Regions from separate parts of the Homo sapiens genome. Here region 2 is linked to region 1. The links are contacts of gene promoters, found by promoter capture Hi-C in blood cells and fetal thymus (Javierre and others, 2016). All regions are on one chromosome and are shown on one strand. The core of a region is centred on a gene start or on the middle of the fragment in contact, and the rest is flanking DNA. Distances in the headings are between cores, read along the strand shown. Region 1 holds the start of TMEM60 (transmembrane protein 60). Region 2 has its middle 24 kb from the start of CD36.

The links. Contacts are between HindIII fragments. The CHiCAGO score rates a contact against its expected background, and 5 or more counts as called.
Region 2: a fragment that was not itself captured here is called in contact with the fragment with the promoter of TMEM60 in region 1 in 1 of 17 cell types (M1 macrophages); the score reaches 6.2 in M1 macrophages.

Annotation. Positions count from the first base shown.
Region 1 is chr7:77,796,195-77,801,510 of GRCh38, forward strand. TMEM60 (transmembrane protein 60) reads right to left here and starts at 2,240. Exons shown (of 2, transcript NM_032936.4): 1 at 2,060-2,240. It overlaps PHTF2 (putative homeodomain transcription factor 2), which reads left to right and starts at 2,579. Exons shown (of 19, transcript NM_001395272.1): 1 at 2,579-2,777. RefSeq lists an enhancer at 2,000-2,109 and a silencer at 2,520-2,659. The HindIII fragment of the contact is 8,213 bases long and covers 1,084-5,316 here.
Region 2 is chr7:80,612,113-80,617,332 of GRCh38, forward strand. It overlaps a transcript of CD36 not described here. Among named protein-coding and RNA genes, the nearest start is that of CD36, 24 kb to the right of the region's middle. The HindIII fragment of the contact is 2,871 bases long and covers 794-3,664 here.

The DNA of each region.
Region 1 (5,316 bases), core at 990-3,489:
CCCAAAGTGTTGGGATTACAGGTTTGAGCCACCACGCCGGCCTCTTTTCTAGAATATTTTCTATTTTGCCCTTACAGTTTTTCAATGCTAAATTTGCTGATTCTTGAAAACCTAGAATTTTGATTATGAATGCATAAAACTTAGCTTGGGATAGCATTTATTATATTTAATCTTCACATATAGGTTTATGATATGTTCCTCTACTTAAGTTTTTTATACCAACCTTTATGGCCACTTGGAAAAAGGATAAGTAGAATGGGAAATCAGAAGCCAGACTGCATGCAGCTGGGTAAGGAGTTAACAGAAGACCAAGAAATGGAAACAATTGAGAACATTTTATTCCTTTGAGGCATTTGGAGAAGAGAAAAATGAAAGATAGGGTATATGAAACTGAAAGAAGAAATTTTCAGGAAAGGAAGAATTTATGACTATAAACAGAAATAAGCCAATGGGGAATGACACTGAAGATGAGAGAGGATACTTGATGGAAAGAGAAAAAGATCAGAAGGTGCTAGGGATAGGAACAAAAGCATGCGTGGTAGGAGGAAAGATGCAGGAAGATAACAGGGAAAAGGTGAAGGAACTGGCTAATTGAGCCAAATACCCTAGATTAGCGTGCTCAATTATATTTTAGAACTAACTTTGATGTACTGTGCAACATCTCTACTACTTTAAATAGTGGGTGGCTATCACAGTGCAAGAGGACACATCTGTTCTATTTCAACAGTTAAGTATTAGTCTCCTAACTCACCTCTTTTCCCTTATACCCATCTAGTGGCACTTAAACTTGTTTACTTAATTGGCAAAGGCTTCATACTGCAGTAATTTTGCTTCTAAGGAGGCATTTTTCTGTGTTGGTTTCCTTTCCCGGCCAGAGGCTGCCATAGAGTGGGATGTGGGACTGAATTTGGAAGCAGGGTTGGAGGGGTGTGTGTTGATTAATAACCATGGATGGATTTCATCCCGTAAATTGCACAATCCCCACCTCCAATCTATCAGGCCGTTTTTGTGAACCTCTGAAAAACGGTTTATGATTATACACTTGCTTAAACCTAACTGTTCCATCTGCTATCGGATAAGACAAGCTTCATTTTTTTCTTACATTTGGCTGTACTTACCACAGGTGCTTTAGGGCTGGAGGTGAAAGGATGCAAGTAACAATCTTATTGTGCCTACAAGATTTATAATGTGGGATGCAACAAAATTCTGTTATGTTCTTGCACGGAAATACCCTCAATGGGGAAGCACTGCTGATACTTAAATGACGATTGAAGGATTGTACGCCTGTATGCTGAGCTACAACGATGACATACGATCCCAGTTTTACATTTACGTCTTCATCAATTTGAGCAGTCGTTATGTTTCCTACTATTCTCTCCACAAGAAAGGGGGAGGTGCGTACTCCAAAAATGTGCTCAACTAAAATGTTTCCCATTTAAGGTGGTTATTTCTGGCACTAGGAAGACAGTTAAATATTTGTTAATGATTCCTTACTCATTTTTAAAACCTTCGGAGTTACCCCTGTATGGACATATATAGAGCCCCACCCACATAGCCCACGGCTGGGTATCAGCCCCCATTTCCCTTCTCTCGCCACTGCCAGTAGTCTACCAAGTGAACCTGCCTCATCCCAAAGATAATTTTGCTTCATGAGCCCACATATTTATTCTTCTTCATAATGAGTCGCTTTTGAAAAGCCCGTGCAGCAACAGCCTTGGCCAAAGGAACAGCGTTCTGCTTACAACTTAGCTCATCTGGGGGCCTATTTGCCCCTGGAACTTCAGGACGCTCCTAAACTATACTTGCCCTTCTGCAAACACCGACAGTCGGCTCGCGGCGCCCCACCGGGACGCTCCCCTTTCATGGGCTGTAAGCCCAGCACATGCTGGAGTTTAACACGGTTCCTGCTGGATGCGCACAGAAGCCCTGGAGCCAAGCAGGCGTGTGCGCGTTTGGGGCTGGCTGTGTGATGGGTTGAGGGTCGGCCGCACAGCCCACGGAAGCATCAGGAGACCAGCGCCGGCGTACGGTGCGGGCTAGGGCAGAGCCCCAGACTCACCTGGCAGCGCTGCCGGCCGGAAAGCGGAGAGGGACGCGAAGATCAGCAAATTCGCCAGTTTGGATCCTTGTCCTTTTCCGCCCTTTTCCCCCCATTAAATCCAGAACCCGTCACATGATAATTAAGAAAAAACTTCAGTTCCGCCTCCTCAAACGACTGCGGTAGAGGATCTCTCAGTTCTACCTCAGTGCCGCGCCCACATCCGGGGCTGGTTCTCACCGCCCCTGAGCCTACCCTATAGGTAGAGAGGACGCCAATCTGGATTCAGAGGTCCCTTTTCCGCGGTAATTGGACCATTTGTCCGCCAGTGCAAACCAACCGACCTTTCCTTACTTTCGGGTTCGACAGAAAGGCGGCAATAAAAAGACCCATTGGTCCCGCCTCTCTACTGTCACGGGTTAGTAGGGAAGTCAGTCCAAGATCAGCCTGGAGTTTCCGTGCTCCCATTGGGCCCACAGATGTTAATCAGAGCAGCCGGCGCTCAGCTCCGCCCTCTCGGGACGCCCCGCCCCTCCTCCCATCCTCCCTGCCCGCGCGCAGTGACTGCAGGCTCCGGCGCAAAATCCTGCGGGAGAGGGGGTGGGGCAACCCTCTGGAGGCAGCGCGCCCGCGGGCAGCCTCGTTGTGGCTCCTTGGGCTCTGTTGGCGGCGGCGCTAGCTTCGGAGTCTCCCGCGCGCACCTCAGCCGCCTCCTAGCGGCGCGGCGCTCGCTCCTACGGTAAGAGCGGCATCACCTCCGCGCTCGGGTGGGCAGTGTGGAGGTCGTCGAGTTCTGACAGAATTTCGAGGATGGATCGGGACGAGGGAGGAGAGCGGTCGTCGGGATGGAGGTGGGGGCTCCGGGGCCAACGCGTCGCCCTCCGTCGCCGGCGACTTTCCCGGCAGTCTCCCGTACCTGAGGGCCGGGGTCAGCCGCGACCCCTTCTCATCAGTCGGCCGGTGGCGGAGGCTCAGCCGCCTTCCTCCCGAGCTCGCGCGGTCCTCAAGTCTTGATGGTGACGGGCCGAAGCCCAGCGCGCCACCCGCCCCTCGGGCCCCGCTTCCAGGCCCCTGTCCTTTGCTTCCTTCCCTTGGCGCTGTGCTGAGGGGTCGTCGGGTCCTGGAAGGGCGTTCAGGGGTCTCGGGTGGCTAGCCCGGCTGGCGGGGAGATGTCAGCTAGCGGCCGGAGGAGCGGGCTCGGGAGGGGGCGGCGGCTCGCGCGCTGGAGGAGGTGGAAGGAGGGTCGCTGCCCTGCCCCCTCTGAGCAGGCGGCAGTCGAGTTTTCTGATCCCAACACGGCGGAGTGGGTGCTTAAGGCATGGGCCTTAAGGGATAGTTCCCGTCTGGAAACAATACCGTGCTCCATCAGCATGCTTCAGCTTTTCTTATTTTTATCTGCCCAGTGTTGACAGCCAGCATTCTGGTATTGTCCTTCGAGTCATGGCTTTCTAACTCAGCACCTCCTTGTGTAACTTCAGGGATCATTCTGTCACTAATCTGTCACCCTTCTTATTTTTAGCGTGGCGAAAACAAGGAACTGCCTTATACTAACCTGGGCAGTGCAGAATCTGGAACAATTTATTAATCTCAGTGTGTACTTTACATGCCAAGTAATTTTGAAATTCATGGTGAATATTAAATATTTTGTAGTTTTCGGTTGCTTTCTTTGTTAATAGTATATCCTCCTTGCTTTGAGACTACTTTTCAGGTGTGATACTTTAATCTTAAGGTTTTTGGTTAGCTTTTGCCATTTTTAAACGTTTCTTTCATTTTTTTTTTCTCCAAGACTTTGGCAAGAGACTTAGTATTTGATCTTGTTTTCAGGTATTTTTGTAAAGTTTATTTTCTTTCAAACTGGGCTTTTTTCACCATATTTTTAATATTGGAAGGGGAATTCTGAAAGTCTGGAAACTGCACACTTTAGCCTAAAGAGTCACAAAACAGTATAACAATTTGAAATCCTAACTTGGATATGGTGTATGGACTGCAAATTTTAAGAGAAGGAAATGGATATGCGTTATCAGTTGTAGTGGCTCCACCTCCATAACGTAGAGGAGAGGAATCTGGAGGTCTGCGGAGAATGAGCCATGTCTGGGGCCAGAAACAGTGGTTCCAGGAAATATTTTTGCCCCAGAAATAGCCTGCCTCCCACACAGACTGGCTGTCTGAATGCATCTGATAGTTTTAAGTTAGGTGTTAGTGAGGTGGAGAGTTTTCGTGTTCCAATTTTGACCACTTTCTGGTGGAGCATGAAAATGTGGTGAGTAAACAAGTATAGTATACAATGGGGGCACTCTTGCATAGATAGTCAAGCCTCCAAGAGTAAACTTTTTTTGAGCCCAAACTGGCACTGGACAGTTGGCCCTAAAAATGAAGAAGGTGGCCCACCCAATTTTTAAACCATGAACTTTTTTTGGCTGGTCCATTTAATGCAAAATTGCAAGGAATATGTAATGAAAAAAACCTTCACTAAACTGAAGAGAATTTAGGGTGTCATGTGGATAAAATGAAACTCGAAAATAGTTGGACTACTTGTATATTATTTAATCATTTTAGTCCTGTGAGATGGGTACTGATTACTGTCATTTTATAGATGAGCAAACCAAGACTTAGTTTAACTAATTTGTTCAAGATTTCTTCACAAATGAGTCAGTAGAGGTGAGATTCACACCTAAGCAGTCTGATTCCAAAGCCTACATTCCAAGCCATTATACTTTATTACCACAATAAAATTGGCTTCTTGGAGACTTTATAGTAGGAGACTACTCAGTGGAAAATAACACTGCAAAACCGTAAATTGAATCCACTATTGTACACAGTAACACTTTGAGATCATTGTATAATAGGCACTGTTGGATTTTGCTGAAGATAAAGGGATGGAGTCACCTTCTCTGTGTTTGAGGAGCATTCATTTGATGGGAGAAATAGATATTTGAACAAATGACGATAATACAATATATACAGATTGAGCATCTGTAAACTGAAAATCTGAAATGCTCTAAAATCTGGAACCTTTTGAGTGCCAAGATGATGCCACAAGACACTTGACTTCATGTGACAGGTTACAGTCAAGCTGGGTGCGGTGGCTCACGCCCGTAATCCCAGCACTTTGGGAGGCCAAGGCGGGTGGATCACCTGAGGTCAGGAGTTCAAGACCAGCCTGACCAATATGAAACCCCGTCTCTACTAAAAATACAAAAAAAATTAGCCGGGCGTGGTGGTATGCACCTGTAGTCCCAGCTACTCGGGAGGCTGATACAGGAGAATCGCTTGAACCC
Region 2 (5,220 bases), core at 979-3,478, 2.8 Mb after region 1:
ACAAAGTTCTTTGTTACTTCAGTAATTAAACGTGCACACCTGAAATCCAATTTCCACTACTTTGATGATTGTTGAAATGAGATTCTTTTGAATGTCCTTCTTAAGTTCTATAATATGCTCAATACACTGAGTCCTGTAATATAAAATATCATTCCTGTTATGCTAGCAACCTGAAAAATCACAGGAGATCAGTCCCTGTATAAAAATGATAATGTGCACAAATTGTTTGGGGGCATTTATTCTTTTCTTTGCACATATACCATAAAAACTAATTTGTTATATAAATGAAAAAATTATGCCTTTGGCATATATAAAATACAATGAAATGAAATTTTAATAACTCAAAGCTTCTTATGAAGAAATTAAGGGGTCTTTCTACTTACTATGTAGATGAACAGCATGCTAATCAGATTGTAGAATCCTGCAGTTGGGAATTATCTTAAAAAGTATTTCTGAAAATATGCACCTCTGTGGAACTTATATAAATGTGGTTAAATATATATACTCAACTTTCTATTTAGATATTCCAGATACCACCTGAAATAGAAGAGATAATCTGACTTTTTCTATTATTCAACCATATACTTTCTTTTGTTGTTTTTATTTCTTTAATTTTCCACATTGACAGATATAATTGTATGTATTCACTGTGTCTTAAATGTATAAGCATTGTGGAATGGGCTCAATCTAGCTATTTAACATGTGTGTTATATCACATAGTTATTATTTTTGTGGTGAGAACACTTTATATCCACTAAGCATTTTTTAAGAATTCAGATAAACTTTCATCATAAGCTTTGCTTAAATAAAAAATCTAGTAAGTGATTCAAGTCTGTGATTGAATAATATTCCATATATTTAGGTAGTATATGGATTCAAAATGAGTAGAAATATTGACAAACATCCCATGCTAATAATCTACTTTGTAACTTCTCATAAATCTGTAGAGGAAGTAGTAGTAGAGAGAGGAGGGGAGATAAGGCTATAAATAAACTTGATTCCATGAGTCACACAAAGAAAAAGTATCTTTTCTTTATGGTAATGTAATATTTAAGACATTTGTAATATTCATAATTGTATTACTTTCTTTACATTATACATATATGCTTTTTAAACATGAGCTGCATGATAAATTCAAAGTTTCAGTGCCATATGTAAACTTAAGTTTCTCTATTTTTTCTTTTTGCAGGGAGGTGAGGGTTGCTCTTAAAATATGATAAAGGCAATACAAGAGAAATAGTGTGTTTTAACCACTGCTGTATTTATCATAGTATCTTGTTAATAAGCTACTTTGATTCTACTTTATGGAGATTTTTCCTTTAGTTACTCTTGAAGATATCATCTAAACCAAGAAAGATATTCATTCTTCTCTTTCTCCTTAAGGTCTATCTTTTCACAAGATCCTACTTCATCTTTCCTATTTTGGAATAAAACATGCAGCTCTGTTTTATGTGAGCCAGAAATAATTTACTGAACAGGAAACTGTAGTTAAGAAGTAAAAATCACAGTGAAAAATTTTAACTTTTAATGGGACAAAGAGGCTTGAATCTTTTACGGATGAGAGATGCTTGTCAGGGGCCTAAGAGATGGGGTTTATTTAAGTCTAGTCAGCAGTTTTGATTCTTAAATTTGAATAGTTCAAAAGTCAAATTAGAGTAGGATCCTGATAACTGAGTTGATTCCTTGTTAACAGTAATAAAAGGTAAATATTATCAATAAATATAAAATATCTACCAGTTACTTGGGAAGTTAATATAGTACTTTTGGAGTATATTTTATACAGAACCAAATGCATATAATTAGCTAATGTGCTTTTGGGTGTCTATATTTTGTAATAATACTATCTGAAAAGTTGTTACAGATAAACATTTATTATTTTTCTGAAAGTCAAAGGGATATTTTGTATGCCCGGCTTAGCAGCAGTTGTCTATTTGAAATGAAAATAAAAGAGCATTAATGCCAATCAGCTTTCTTACTAGAAATATTCCTGTACTTGATGTTTTTCCACAAACTCTTAACACATCACAGATATTCTTAAACTACTTGTATAAATTATACCAGAATAAAATGGGCATCATTCTCTTTTTTGTTTACATCGAATGTTTGTTTCTCCAGAGCACATCCGTATTGTGGAGAAACAATGGTGACTGTTTTTAATTGCAAAAACTACCCAGATTCTTTCTTGGAGAGCCTCCTTGTTTTCCACTGGGTTTAGACATAGGTTCTCTTTCACTCTTTATCCTACATTTTTAGACCATCATAATGTATTTATATTTTATACACCCACTGGCCAACAAGAGAATCTATATATATGTTCACTAAAAAGCAGGTTTATACAATTAGTTTACTCATTCCTTCTTCCTAGTAAGGTTCTTCTTTACTTGAGTCCAGTTCCTGACTCCAGAATAAAAATGAAATTATCAATGTCTCTTGTACATTAGTCTGTGATTTTTTTGCAGGGGTGCCCTCTGTATCTTAATCTTTGCTTCTTCTTCGCGGCTCCATCTTTCCCTCAAATTCCCCACCATGACACTGAAGTACTTCCCCGATTCTGCCCTTCCTTGGAAACCACATCTGAGTTCCTGACCCCAATTCCAATACCCCAGTTTATAATGTGAAGTGGGAAATTGGGGGATTAAATATTTCCTGATATCAGTTGAAAACTGTGGGTGCCCTTGTTATTTGCTCTGCTACTTGTTAGCTTTATACTGTATTTGTCGCTTCAACGAATGCCAATATAAAAGAAATGCTAAGTCCTTTGTTCCTTTGACCTTTTGTGTTTTTTTCCCCTCTGCTTGCATAGGGGCGTATCCAGTTTTCATTACTTCTCTTCTGTCTACCCCTGCTGTTATGTTCCAGAATGCCACCAAGATGAAAGCTAACCAAAAGTATTTCTCCCACTTGTGATAATGACTCTTAGGGCTTGCTTTCCAGTTTTACAGCCCTCTTTGCCATGGCTGCCACTACAAACTGCAAGCACATTCCCGTTAATCCAAACTCTGCCTAGAATGAGACCACATTCCCTTCATCAGGCTGAATACAAGTTTTAGTTCAGGGCCTTGTGTCTTTCCCGCATTCATTTATTAGTCATCGAGCTGAATTTCTCAACCCAATTTATTGCTTTTCATGTGACCTTTTAAAAGTACAAACTCGTATCCTGTCACTCCTCCAACTTATAATTATTTAATTGTTCTATTCTGCTTACAGAATAAAGTTCAATCTCCTTAGAATATCATGCAGGGGGCTTCAAGGTCTGGTATCCACCTGTTTTCCTCACTTTTTGCAACTTCCCTGAAAACCATTTTTGTACATTTGCAAGCATATCACTTCCTTTTTGCCTCTGAATTTATGCATGTTGTTCTTTCTGCTTCTATTGCCCTTTTTCCATCTTCTGTGATTAGAAAATATCTATTCATCCATTGAAGCCCTTCTGTTATTTTACAATCTATCTCCTATCAACAAAATCACAATCTATTCAAGACCATATTTTATTCATCTTTGCATGCCAGCGCCATGCTCAAAGCCTGGAGTATGATTAAAGGTCAGTTAGTGTTTGAATGAATAAGTTAGTTCTTTAGTACGTTTCCTTTCTCTTAACTCACAACTTGAAGTTGTATTATTTCTTTACTCTTCAGAATTTCTCCCAAAATATTCTAAGGCGGGAAGCTTCATGAAAACTCTTGGAGTTTTCTCTAATAGTCTTACCAAAACAAATGGAAGAGTCTTTCTTGGTTTCCATGATAGCTTTCTTTGTTTCAGATTGGTTAATTTTATAGTTCACTTTTCATTTGTCAGGATAATTCTGTTTTTAGGAAGGATAGAAGCTTGGACTTAATTTTATTTTGAATTTTGATTTAATTTTGATTTGATTTTATAGCCTTAACAGATAACACTTTCTTCCTTTAAAGAAATCTATCTTTCCAGGCAATAGGAGATCTTGTTGTATTTCTTTGTTCTTTAGAGTTGATTCTATAGATATTCCTTGACTTTTTGTTAGGGTTATATCCCAATAAAGCTAGTGTAAGTTAAAAATATGAAAATATCATTGTAAAAATGCATTTAATACATCTAATCTACTGGATATCATAGCTCAGCCTAGCTTATCTTATATGTGCTCAGAACACTTACATTAGCCCACATTTGGGCAAAATCATCTAATACAGAGCATATTTTAGAATAAAATGTGGACTATGTCATGTAATTAATCAAATCTAGCATTGAACTATGGTTTCTACTGAATGTATATTGCTTTTACACCATTGTGATGTTGAAGGGTTGTAAGTTGAATCATTGTAAGTTGGGGACCATCTGTGTGTGTGTGTGTGTGTGTGTGTGTGCCTGCACGCACACACACACACACACGCAATTTGAGCAGATAATTGTGTTATCAAGATGGTATGACAGTCCAGTATTTTAAAGTGATTTCTCTAGAGGAAAGTTATTATTTGACAAATACTATGAAAATAAATCTCAAACATTTTCTTAAGTCTCCAGTTGTTATCAGTTGGGATGATTTTGCCTGCAAGTAACAAAGTCCAAAAGAAGCAGTTTCTTGGGTACTTTTTATTTTGTTCATATAATAAGGAGTCAACAGACTGAATTAACCAGCTTGGAATCATCCTTAGGCTCACTGATATTACTTAATTCATAGGGCTCTAGGTTGGTTTTTCTTACTGTTACCCTACAAGTGCAAAGTGGCTACGGCGATTGTAAGGATCATGTCTTTATATAACAATGCCTAACAACAGTAAGAAACAAGTTTCTGTCTTGTTTCAGTCTTTTAAAACAGAAAACTATCACTACAGCTCTGTAGCTGACTTGTTTTTATGCCTCAGTGTCAGCATTTTGTTATATGCTTGCTATACATCTCATTATCAAGGAGAATTGTGGCTAAAACTAATCAATATTCAACCTCTGTAGCTTGGGAGAGGTTTTATAATCACATAGACATGAAATATCTAACACAAAATCAGAGCTCAGTGAGGAGAGATGAGGTGGAAAGAGTGGAAGTAAATTCTGTCATAGTAGGTCCTATTCTAATTTACATGAGTTCAATTTTTGAAAATTAAAATATATGTGTCCTCACACACAGGGGAACAACACACATGGGGGCCTTTCAGAGGGTAGACAGTGGAGGGAGAGAATCAGGAAAAATCACTAATGCGTACTAGGCTTAATACTTGGGTGACGAAATAATCTATAGAACAAACCTCCATGACA